2 separate regions of the Homo sapiens genome follow, and region 1 is linked to region 2. The links are contacts of gene promoters, found by promoter capture Hi-C in blood cells and fetal thymus (Javierre and others, 2016). All regions are on one chromosome and are shown on one strand. Each heading gives the region's core, a stretch centred on a gene start or on the middle of the fragment in contact. The rest is flanking DNA. Distances are from core to core; before and after follow the strand shown.

The links. The method cuts DNA at HindIII sites, captures the fragments that hold promoters and counts their contacts. A CHiCAGO score of 5 or more calls a contact.
Region 1: a fragment that was not itself captured here is called in contact with the fragment with the promoter of SMNDC1 in region 2 in 1 of 17 cell types (activated CD4 T cells); the score reaches 5.5 in activated CD4 T cells.

Annotation. Positions count from the first base shown.
Region 1 is chr10:110,428,473-110,434,422 of GRCh38, reverse strand. LOC105378482 (a long non-coding RNA gene) reads left to right here. Exons shown (of 4, transcript NR_188210.1): 4 at 5,413-5,583. Among named protein-coding and RNA genes, the nearest start is that of DUSP5-DT, 65 kb to the left of the region's middle. RefSeq lists enhancers at 2,834-3,439, 4,915-5,014, 5,025-5,274. The HindIII fragment of the contact is 939 bases long and covers 980-1,918 here.
Region 2 is chr10:110,303,171-110,308,819 of GRCh38, reverse strand. SMNDC1 (survival motor neuron domain containing 1) reads left to right here and starts at 3,900. Exons shown (of 6, transcript NM_005871.4): 1 at 3,900-4,072; 2 at 5,233-5,352. The coding sequence starts at 5,233. RefSeq lists a silencer at 4,069-4,388. The HindIII fragment of the contact is 6,895 bases long and covers 593-5,649 here.

The DNA of each region.
Region 1 (5,950 bases), core at 200-2,699, 130 kb before region 2:
TCCTGGGGTCTTTTCTGGGTAGGAATGCCAGATAAAATATAGGACACCCTTGTTAAATTTGAATTTCAGATAAACACCAAATACTTTTTTAGAATAAGCATGTCCCAAATATTACAAGGAAAATACTTATATTAAAAACTATTTGGTGTTTATCTGAAATTCAAATTTAACTGGGCATCCTGTTTGTTTGTTTGTTTTTTCCCCCTGAATCTATCAGTCCTATCTGTCGGGCATGTTGGAGTGTGAGACGAGGAGGGAAAGCCCAAGTGTTTGAAGGAGCAGGCACAGGCCTTGGTAGGGCCAGCTCTCTCTGAGCCCTGGCACCGGGAGCTCCTCTCTGGGCCTCCTGGGTCTGAGGTGAGGGTGTCTGGGGACCTATTGGAGCCAACTTCCTGCAGGGAGGCTCTGCGGGCGGAACAGGGCACTGCTGCCAACTCAGAGTTGTTTGCACTTCATGGCCTCCTGGGGCACTGGCCCCCTTCCTGGTTAACATCCTGGATGGGAGAACCAAGAACAACAGCACCTTCCCTGGAGAGGTGCTGAAGTCGTTCCAGGAGCACCTTGCTGGGAATAGGCCTCGGAGGCCCGGCCTGTTGGGACCTGGAAGACCAATCGGTCCTGCTACAGGAGGGCCCCCGAGCAGGTGCAGGGCTTTTCCGATGCCACACAGTGTGCAGGTAAACCTAGAGCGTGGTCTCCAGACCTCCCGTTCCCATCCCCTACCTACGTGGCTGCCTTTCTGTGCCATCAGGAGAGGAGCAGCTGTGGCCAGTGCAACTGGTGACTGAGCCCCTCTAACACAACAGGTTTCAAACTCAACCTCTCATCTGCCCTGTATTAGGCCATTCTCGCATTGCTATAAAGAAATACCTGAGACTGGATAATTTACAAAGAAAAGAGGTTTAATTGGCTCATGGTTCTGTAGGCTGTACAGGAAGCATAACACTGGCATCTGCTTCTGGGGAGGCCTCAGGAAGCTTCCAATCATGGTGGAAGGCAAAGCAGGAGCTTGCACATCATGTGGCACAAGTAGGAGTCGGGGGGCGGGGAGGTGCTACACAATTTTAAGGGACCAGATCTCCTGAGAACACACTCACTACCATGAAGGCGGCACCAAGGGGATGGTGCTAAACCATTCATGAGAAATTCACCCCCATGATCCCATCACTCCCTCCAATACTGGGTATTACAATTCAACATGAGATTTGGGCAGGGACACAGATCCAAACTATATCACTCCCCCTTCAATACATGGTACCCACACACCTGGCTGTGCAAACTAGAAACCTCAGCTTCATCCTGGGTGTATCAGTCAGCTAGGGCTGCTGTAACAAACACCACAGACTGGTGGTCTAAACAACAGAAATGTATTTCTCACTGTTCTGGAGGCTGGAAGTCCAAGATCAATGTGTTGGTAGGGTTGCTTTCTCCTGAGGCCTCTCTTCTTGGCTTGCAAATGTCTGGCTGTGTCCTCACATCCTCACATGGCCTTTCCTCTGTGCATGTGCACCCCTGATGTCTCTCTGTGTGTCCAAATTTCCTCTTCAGCTGGGCATGGTGGCTCACACCTGTAATTCCACACTTTGGGAGGCCGAGGCAGGTGGATCACCTGAGGTCAGGAGTTGGAGACCAGCCTGGCTGACATGGTGAAACCCCGTCTCTACTAAAAATACAAAAATTAGCCGAGTATGGTGGTGGGCGGCTGTAATCCTAGCTGAGGCAGGAAACTCGCTTGGACTAGGAGGCAGAGGTTGCAGTGAGCTGAGATTGTACCACTGCACTCCAGCCTGGGCAACAAGAGGGAAACTACATCTCAAAAAAAAAAAATAATAATTCCTCTTCTTATAAAGACACTAGTCAGATTGGATTAAGGTCCACTGTAACAGCCTTGTTTTAATTTAATCACCTCTTCAAAGCTTCTATTATGGTGCAAAAGTAATTGAAAGTAATGGCAAGATCCGCAATTACTTTTGCACCAAACTAATATATCCAAATACCATCACATTTGGGGCACTGGGGGTTAGGGCTTCAAAAAGTGAATTCTGGGGGTGTACAGTTCAGCCCATAATACTGGGCACTCCTGCCTGTCCCTTCTCCTGTGAGTCACTAAGCCCTGTTAAAGCCACTTCCTCTGTAGCGCCTCAATTTGTCTGCACCCTTTCATTGCCACCTGAGCCAGGTGGCCCTCGTCTCCCAGGCCAGACAGCTCTCCTCCTGGCTGGTCTCCTGCCTCCACTTTCCCTTCTCCAATCCATTTTGCACCTAGCCGCAGAGGAAACACAGCTCCACTCTTGTCCATCTCTACTCTCCCATCTTCTAAATCCATCACTGGCTTCTTATTTTTAGGATCAAAATTGCCTTACTGGCATACAGACCTCTGTGCGATCTAGCCCTGTCCCCTTTCCCAGGTCTAATCCCTCCTGTGGGAATCCCTCCATCCACACTGCAGCCGATCTGAGATCTGAACGTGAATCGAGCTCCTTCTTGCTTGGGGCTCTTCTTGCTAGCACAGGCTGTTCCGTCTGCCTTCCTCACTCCTCCCACCTCACCTTCCCCAGGCTTACCTCTACCCGTTCTACCTGTCCTCAGACCTCCACCTAGGCTCCACTTCCTCCAGAAAGCCTCCCCTCATCCCTACCAACCCTCAGGCTCTGAAGTGGGGGCTCCTCTTGGACACCCCCAGAACACTCTATTCTGATGCTTTGTTTGCTAGCCTGCCTTCTCTGCTAGTCTTCTCTGCGAGTGGCTTCTGTGAAGGCAGGGGCACATTCACTGCTCTATCTGCAGTAACCAGTGTGGCCCTGGCACACAGAAGGGCTCACCAGTTATGAGCTGTGATTTTTTACTGTTAAATTTCTGAGCAACGTCAGACTACAAAGCATTGGGGGGCAAAAGGAGAGTAAAAGAAAGGCCAGCTGGCCGGGCAGTTTTTCAGTTCTAGCCATACAACAGAATCGCTCGTGCTGCTTTCCAGATGTATCAATTCTCAGGCATCATCCCAGAGATTCTGATTCCATTGGTTGGAGGTGGGCCCAAGAGTGGTACTTTCTGAATATTTTCCAATATTCTATGTGCAGCTGGGATTGAGAAGCCCTGAGTGAGCACTAAGACTCAGCTCACTGGGTCTCAGCTCAGTAGATCCTTGCTGACGGAGGTCCTCCTCTACTGCTGGTGGGAGGACGGGGTCTCCAGATGTTTACTCCTGCCCCAGCTCTCCTTCCTCAGGGTGCGGCTCCCTGGGCTGAGCCGCAGTGGTTTCCTCCCCATGGAACCAGTCAAACCTCTCCCTGCTGGCTCCTTGGGGAGGCAGCCAGGCCCAGAAGGAGGAGCAGGGGCTAGGGTCTAGCCCAGCAGGCTAGGTCACAGGTCCCCTGCCAGAGCCAGCCCCAGGGGAATTCAGTTGGTTCCACAAATATTTGCCGAGCACCCAGACTGGGTCAGGTGCTTTGCCAGTTGCGAATCTAGTAACCAAGTCTGGCTACTGACCAGCCCTGTTACCCTAGCCTTGGACTAGGGCTCAAAGAGGAGCTAGATGAAGAGTACTGGTGGCTGGCTGTGGGCACTGTTATCCCCCAAAGCCACTTCCACGATCACCTAAGCAAAGGGGAAGGTGTGATCATCATGTCCCACCCCAGCTACCCTCTGTCTTTCCTATGGCCCAGTGTGGCCAGAACTGTTGCAGCAGAATCCCCTAGGAAGCTTGTTAAAAATGCAGGTTCCTGGGCTCCACCCTGGAAATCTGATTTAGAAGGTCCAGGGTAAGGCCCAGTAATCTAAATTTTCAGCCAGTTCCTCAAGGGATTCTGATGCAACAGCTCGCCGATGATTCTAGTGTGTAGCTGCCTTTAAGAATCACAATAGTCTAGGCTGGGCGTGGTGGTTTACGCCTGTAATCCTAGTACTTTGGGAAGCCGAAGTGGGTGGATCACTTGAAGTCACAAGTTCAAAAGCAGCCTGGGCACTATGGTAAAACCCTGTCTCTACTAAAAAAATAAAAATTAGCCGAGTGTAGTGATAAGCACCTGTAATCCCAGCTACTCAGGAGGCTGAGGAAGGAGAACTGCTTCAACCCAGAAGGCAGAGGTTGCAGTGAGCCAAGATCACGCCACTGCACTCCAGCCTGGGTGACAAAGCAAGACTCTGTCTCAAAAACAAATAAACAAACAAAATCACAGCAGTCTAATTTCCTCAGGTGGGTTTAATGCCTTTTTGGGGAAGGAAGGAAGTGAACAGAAACAAGTTTCTGGGCTCAGAAGACTCAGCCACAGCTGGCTCTGACTGGCTTCACAATCATCGTCCCCCATCATTCACCAAGCACTGACCTTGGTGATTTGTTCAATCCTTATCCTACCCTGGTAAAGCTGCTGTCATCCCCATTTTATAGCCCAGAAAAGGTCAAGTTACTTGCCAAGGTCATAGAACACAATGACTAAGTTGGGGTTCTGGGTCTGAAGTTGCTTACAGACCCTGGGGGAGGCAAATGGTGCAAAACACCGCTAGCTCCAGGTGGAATGAAATCGATGCACCAGGGCAGGTAAAAGCCAAGCACTCAGCGAGTGCAGAGAAAGAAGAGATTCATGCTTACTGGGGACTGGCGGGGGAGGCTCCAAAGCAGGCGGTAACATTTGAGCTGGACCCTGGTGGAGGAATTCAACTTTGACATTCAGAGAAGGAAGGGAGGGAAGGGAGAGAATACCAGGCAGAGAATGCAGCATGAGGGGAGCCACTGAGATGGGGAGAACATATAGTAGGAAGAGTGAGTGGGCTGATGTGGTCACAGCATGGGGTGTAGAAAGGGACACGGGAGTGATGACGCAGGAGAGGGCAGCTGGGGACTCTTTACTGGGTGCTCACTGGAAAATAGCCAGAAGTCTGAATGGGGCATTGGCTTTAAGAAGGTAACCCTGGTGACAGGTGACAGGGCTGGGTGGATTAGAGAGATGGTAGCTGGGTTAGGAGATGACTAGATCCAGCCAGGCAAGAACAGTGAGTCACTCTACTTCTCTGGATCAGTTTGTTCCTCTCTAAAATGTAGATAATTATCCCTCCCTGACATCTGTCCCAGGCTGTGGTGAAGATGAAAGAAAAAGGGAGATGGGAAACAGTGTTGGTGAGCCCCAGGGGACAGAGGGAGGGCTTTGCAGGTAAGGGTCAGAATTGGGAAGCTGGAGGCTGTGTGACAATGATGTGCCCTGGCTGGTGACCCCAGTGGCATGGCTACAAGACACAGCAGCATCCAAACAAGATACAGGCCAAGCATAGGAGGGGTTTCAGTTCCCAGGAGGCATCTGCATCTGAACTCAAATTGAGAGAGAATGAGAAACCCCTCCAAACCTACCTGAAGCGGGACTACAAACTTAGCTGCTTCCCCATTTGAAGGGGTTCTAATGGGTGGAATTCTGTTTCCTAAAGGGCCTCAGCGGCACCTGTCCTGAGTCAGCATCTCACAGAGGTTTTGCCAGCGCCAGCCACATCTCCAGCATGAAGGTGATTGTCTGAGTGTGTCCAGTCCAGTTCCTGCCTTAATAAAAATCACTGCTGCAAGGGAGAGGGCTGCCAAGGCCCTGCCTCCCTCCAACCCCATCCTAGCCTGAGTCTTAACCATTCTTCCAATCCAGTTCCACTTTGGGCCAGTGCTTAACCCAGGGTAGCACTTTTGAGCCTCGCAACTCTTGGGAGTGAGTTTTCATCCTAACGTTCTCAGATGAGGAAATTGGGCCTCAAAGAGTCCACACAGGTGAGGCACCATGGCTCATGCCTATAATCCTAACACTTTGGGAGGCCAAGGCAGGAGGAATGCTTGAGCCCAGGAGTTCAAGACCAGCCTGGGCAACATGGTGACACCCTGTCTCTATAAAAAAATACAACAATTAGGCAAACGTGGTGGCATGCACCTGTCATCCCAGCTACCTGGGAGGCTGAGGTGGGAGGATTGCTTGAGCCCAGGAGG
Region 2 (5,649 bases), core at 2,651-5,150:
AGCACTTTGGGAGGCTGAGGGGGGGTGGATTACCTGAGGTCAGGAGTTCAAGACCAGCCTGGCCAACATGGTGAAACTCCGTCTCTACTAAAAGTATAAAAATTAGCCAGGCGTGGTGGCAAATGCCTGTAATCTGAGCTACTCAGGAGGCTGAGACAGGAGAATGGCTTGAACCCAGGAGGTGGAGGTTGTAGTAAGCCAAGATTGTGCCACTGCACTCCAGCCTGGGCGACAGAGAGAGACTCCATCTCAAAAAACAAACAAACAAACAAACAAACAAACAAACAAACAAAGCCTGACATTTCTTATCCTGTAAAGCCTTAGACTATAATCTTTTTCAACCTGAAGAAATTCTCGTTTTCCGTTTTTAGTGGCATATTTTTGTTTTTTAGTGGTACAGTCTTCTGTTCCTCAATGGTACGTGTAAAATACAGAATAATTGAAATGCACATCCTAAGGCTAGCAGTGCAATACAAATTTAAGCAAACAATTCAGGATTGCTATGACTGATGAACATCTGAAGACCTGCGCTGACCAACACCATTTTCAGGTTGTTTTCCATCAACTTTAAATGGATGATGCCACCTAAGCTTCATCCCAGGATATATGTGTTCCATGTACTGTATCCAAAAACACTCAATAAGCACAAAAAGGCAAGTAGCTTGTCCTGCAGCAAATTATGCAAAGATTCAAATCACTTATTAGGACTAAAGAAAGGAGCATAAAACAATTACTATGATTATGTACACAACTCTAATTCATCACCTTTGGCATTTGGTCAAGATAGAAAAAACGCGGCCAAATCTGGGGCTACTTTTAGTCAGGAAATGATACAATAAAAGCTGAGATAAAGAATGCAGTCTCTGCCCCAGGGAGGTGGCTCACCCTGTAATTCCAGCACTTTGGGAAGACAAGGTGGGCAGATCACTTGAGCCCAGGAGTTTGAGACCAACCTGGGCAACATAGCGAAACTCTGTCTCTAGCAAAAAACAAATAATACAAAAATTAGCCGGGCATGGTGGTGTATGCCTGTAGTCCCAGCTACTAGGGAGGCTGAGGCAGGAGGTTTGCTTGAGTCTGGGAGGCAGAGGTTGCAGCGAGCTGAGATTAAACCACTACACTCCAGCCTGGGCAACAGAGTAAGACCCAGTCTCAAAAAAAAAAAAAAAAAAAAAAAACCTATTTGACCAACATGTATTACTTTATTGCATATTCTTCTGCTTTACAGTGGGCTGGCACATTTCCAAAGAGCTATACTTAATTTTTTTTTTTTTAATTTAGGCCAGGCGCTGTGGCTCAAGCCTGTAATCTCAGCACTTTGGGAGGCTGAGGCGGGCGGACTGCCTGAGGTCAGGAGTTCGAGACCAGTCTGGCGAACATGGTGAAACCCCATTTCTACTAAAAATACAAAAAAATTAGCCAGGCGTGGTGGCGCACATCTGTAATCCCAGCTACTTGGGAGGCTGAGGCAAGGGAATTGCTTGAACCAGGGAGGTGGAGGTTGCAGTGAGCTGAGACTGCACCACTACACTTCAACCTGGGTGACAGAGGGAGAATCCATCTAAAAAAAAATTAATTTTTTAAAATTTGTGACAGGATCTCACTATGTTGCCCGAGCTGGAATGCAGCGGCTATTCACAGGCACAGTCAGTGTGTGCTGCAGCCTCAAACTTCTGGATGCCCTTCTCAGCCTTCCAAGTAGCTGGGTGCCATCATGCCATACTTTAATTTTCTTTAGTAGAAAGGAAATAGCTGTATATTCTGATGACAATTTGGAGCCTTTACATTTTATTTATTTACTGTCTTTCAATAAAATAAATATCACGTTTCAAAACTAAAGGTTTAAGATACTTTTTTTTAAATAAACATGATTAAGTTTGAATGCAAATGTTTTAAGAAAAATCAGACACTGAAAGTAAATTTTGACACTTCAAAGGAAATAGTAATTCAGAAAGCCTATTTGAAGTATTGCTCTTAGTTTTGTCTGCTCCAGTTTTGTCTGGAGCAACACCGCATACAATTGTGAAAATTAAATGAACCTGTGTAAAGTGCTTAGAATGGTATCTGGCACATACAAACTGTTATTTCTTTGTGAAAATTAAAATTCAATATAGCTTTTCTTTATAAATGAATGTTGCATAGATAAAAACAATCCTAAAAACAATCCTGAAAAAATTATTAAGATGGTATAGAAATCTATGATGGAACTTATAATGAATATTTGCCTATTTTCTGATCTATGGGGTTCAGGAAAAGTTCTCATTTAAGAGATTTTTACACAATAAGGTTGACTTTATATTCAAGGAAGTTCCTCCTCGCATCGGTTCTTAAAACACACAATTACAATAACAGAAGTTCTCTAAAACTACATTTTATTTTAAACGAATATTTATTTAAAAGCACATGCTTTCTGTTTTGTCTGCCTTCTTAATTCTAGCTACACACTGCTGCCCTCTGCTGCAATTTCAATCTTTCACACTCACAAACCCGACCTAGTTTCCATCTATACAGGTTATCTGACTCACTGCAAGGGTTATGTGTGTGTGTGTAGAGAACAAAAGGGAAGGCTCCTTGAAAAGAAAACTAGGAACTAAAGATGTTGGCACAGTTCAAAAGAGCCCATCTGAGAAGTGGGCCTTTTTTTTTTTTTTTGAGACGGAGTTTCACTCTTGCTGCCCAGGCTGGAGTGCAATGGCACGATCTCGGCTCACCGCAACCGCCGCCTCCAGGTTCAAGCGATTCTCCTGCCTCAGCCACCCGAGCAGCTGGGATTACAGGAATGCACCAACATGCTCGGCTTTTTGTTGTTGTTGTTGTTGTTGGTTTTTTTTTTTTGTATTTTTAGTAGAGACGGGGTTTCTCCACGTGGTCGAGCTGGTCTCGAACTCCTGACCTCAGGTGATCCGCGAGAAGTGGGCCTTTTTATGGATCCAGCAACAAACTCCCAACCTCCCAGGAAAGGTTGCTTCCTGTCATCTATATAAAACTTTGTGTCTCAGGCCTTTATTGCTTTTTTAATTGAAATAAATTATATATATATGGTTTAAAAAAAAAAGAAAAGGAAAAAGGGTAAACAGCAAAGAGGGTAATCAATAAAACATTTGGCTTCCACTCCAAACCTCTGAACAGTTTTGTGTATCCGTCCAGAAAGCGTATATATTATTACAAACATACACAAGGGGCATTTCTTTTTGAACACAAATGTGAGTATTCCTACCACTCTTTACCATTCTAGACTAACTTGGACGTTGTTCCCTATCAGGCGAGATTAACCCAACTAAATTAAAACCAAGTAGGTTTTAACAAAACAGATTTTAAAGAAATCAATCTTCTCTCCAATAGGTTATTTCTGTCACGATTTAATTAGCTTTCTGTTACTACTAAGGCTTGTATCATATAAAGTAGTGGTTCTCAGGCTGGGCGCGGTGGCTCACGCCTGTAATCCTAGCATTTTGGGATGCCGATGCAGGAGGATAGCTTGAGCCCAGGAGCTGGAGACCAGCCAGGGCAACGTAAAGAGAGCCCCCACCAACACCCCCCGCCACCCACCACCACCGCCCCGGAAAAGCAGTGGTTCTCAAACGTCAGCGGACATTGGTATCATCTGGTGAGCTTATTAAAACAAGAGTCTCTGGATTCAGGAGGTCTGGGGTGGGGCTTGAGAATTTGCATTTCCAATAAATTCCAAGCCGGAACTCCAGGAAGATAACCTGCATTCCGCGCCTGGCGAAGCCCAGCTACGCCATTTCCTTCCTAGGCCCCGCCTACTTCGTGTCCCTGACAGCCAGGGACTGGCTAGAGGGCGCGCGGAGTCACGTGAGTCGAGCGACCTCGCGCGAGAGTTTGTATTTCTCGCGAGACTTCACCGTCTCTGTCTTTTCCTCCTTCCAGTGCCCGGCGTTCCTCCCTTCCCCCTCGCCGCCGACCGAGTTCTTCCTTTTCAGACCGGGTCGCCTTGCTGTCGTCGCGGTGATTTTCCTGCTACTGCTACTGCTGCTGCTGCCACCGCCACTACCACTGGGCTCATTTGCCCCGACCCCTTCCCGCCGCCCCGCCCCCAGCCCCACACAAGGTAACAACCCCCCTGAGGGAGAGAGTAAGGCCTGGCCGGGCCCGGGTCCCTCCCGAGGTGAAGCGGAGGCCCAAGGCTGAGGAGCCCGCCTCGCCGGAGACGCCCAGGCGCTGGCCCTGGATCCCGGAGCCACGGCCGTCTCTCAGCCAGAGCTGAGCCTCGGCGGCCCGGCCGGCGCTGGCCTCCGTGCGGCGGCGGCAAACACGGCCCGCAGGGGACCGGGTCGGGTGGGGCTGGGCGCCGCGCGGCTCCCTGTGGAGCCTGCCTGTTGGAGCGCGGCGGGGCTCCGGCGGTGGTCTTGGAGCTGGCGTGTGGATTTCCACGTCCGAATGATCGAGTTGTGGCGGGCTTTGAGGTGCTGCGTGGCGGGGAGGAGAGCAGCCTGGGTCGCTGTAACTCTTAGGGGGCCTTTGCAGGCTCCCAGCCTTTGGTTGGACGGGAATTTTACGAAGGAGAAGGGTCCTCGGAAACGTGGTACATTTGCTTATAAACCATCAAAAAAGGTTAATTGGTATCTTATTTTCAGGAAAATGACTGAGCTGGATTTGGCGAAAGGCACATTCGTTAGAATGCCTAAATGGGAGAGTACCTGTGCTGTTCTTTTTGCTGAAGATAATGCACCGATAAATATTTAAGCGACTGGGCGAAAGATTTTTGTTTTGGAGAGGCACTTTTAAATACACTCTTAATTGAATAGTTCAAGTAAAGATCGTAGTTTGTGTAGTTAATTTAAAAACGCACTTGTTTGGCTTTGGAAGCATACTGTAGTGCTTAAAAATAAGTATTTGGATTGTTTTTGAAAGTTTCGACTTTTCCAACAGAGTAGTGCTTTTTAAAAAGATAACACTGATTATTGAGCCGAATTCAGCACCTACCCTGTGGATAGGAGTTAAAAGAAAATTAGAAATTTCTTTGTATCTGTATGCTTTTTTAAAGTATGGAATGTATCTCAAGTTTATAATCCTCAGAATCTGTTGCCTTTAAGTTTGTGGTTTAGCTGAAGTCTAAACTGAGAGTAAAGGTAATGGTGGTAAATTAAGCTGCAGTGTTAGAAGGAGTTAGAGGCAAAAACTGGTAATTCAGGCAGACAGGGGAGTTAGTTTTTTATGCCTTGATTTTTGGTTTAGTTTTCATGGTCTAACCCTTTTTATTTTCCCTAGATGTCAGAGGATTTAGCAAAGCAGCTGGCAAGCTACAAAGCTCAGCTCCAGCAAGTTGAAGCTGCATTATCTGGAAATGGAGAAAATGAAGATTTGCTAAAATTGAAGAAAGATTTACAAGTAAGTATGGGTAGACAATTGTACTTTTTCTCTGTTTTTCAAATTATTGCTTGAATCCCTAAGTACCCAAAGCGCCTTTTGAGGGGTTACACCCCACCCTATGTATATATGTAAATTCTGTAGGTACCATTGCTTGTAGAAGTAGGGTTGCTTCCCCAGTTCTCAGGTTTCTGTACATCAGAGTGAAATATTGTTCTTTGTTATATAAATCTTGTGTGCTTACATAATTTTTAAAAACTAAAGTTGATAGAAATTTCCAAGTCTGTCAGATTTTCAAGACGAGAGGTACATGTAACT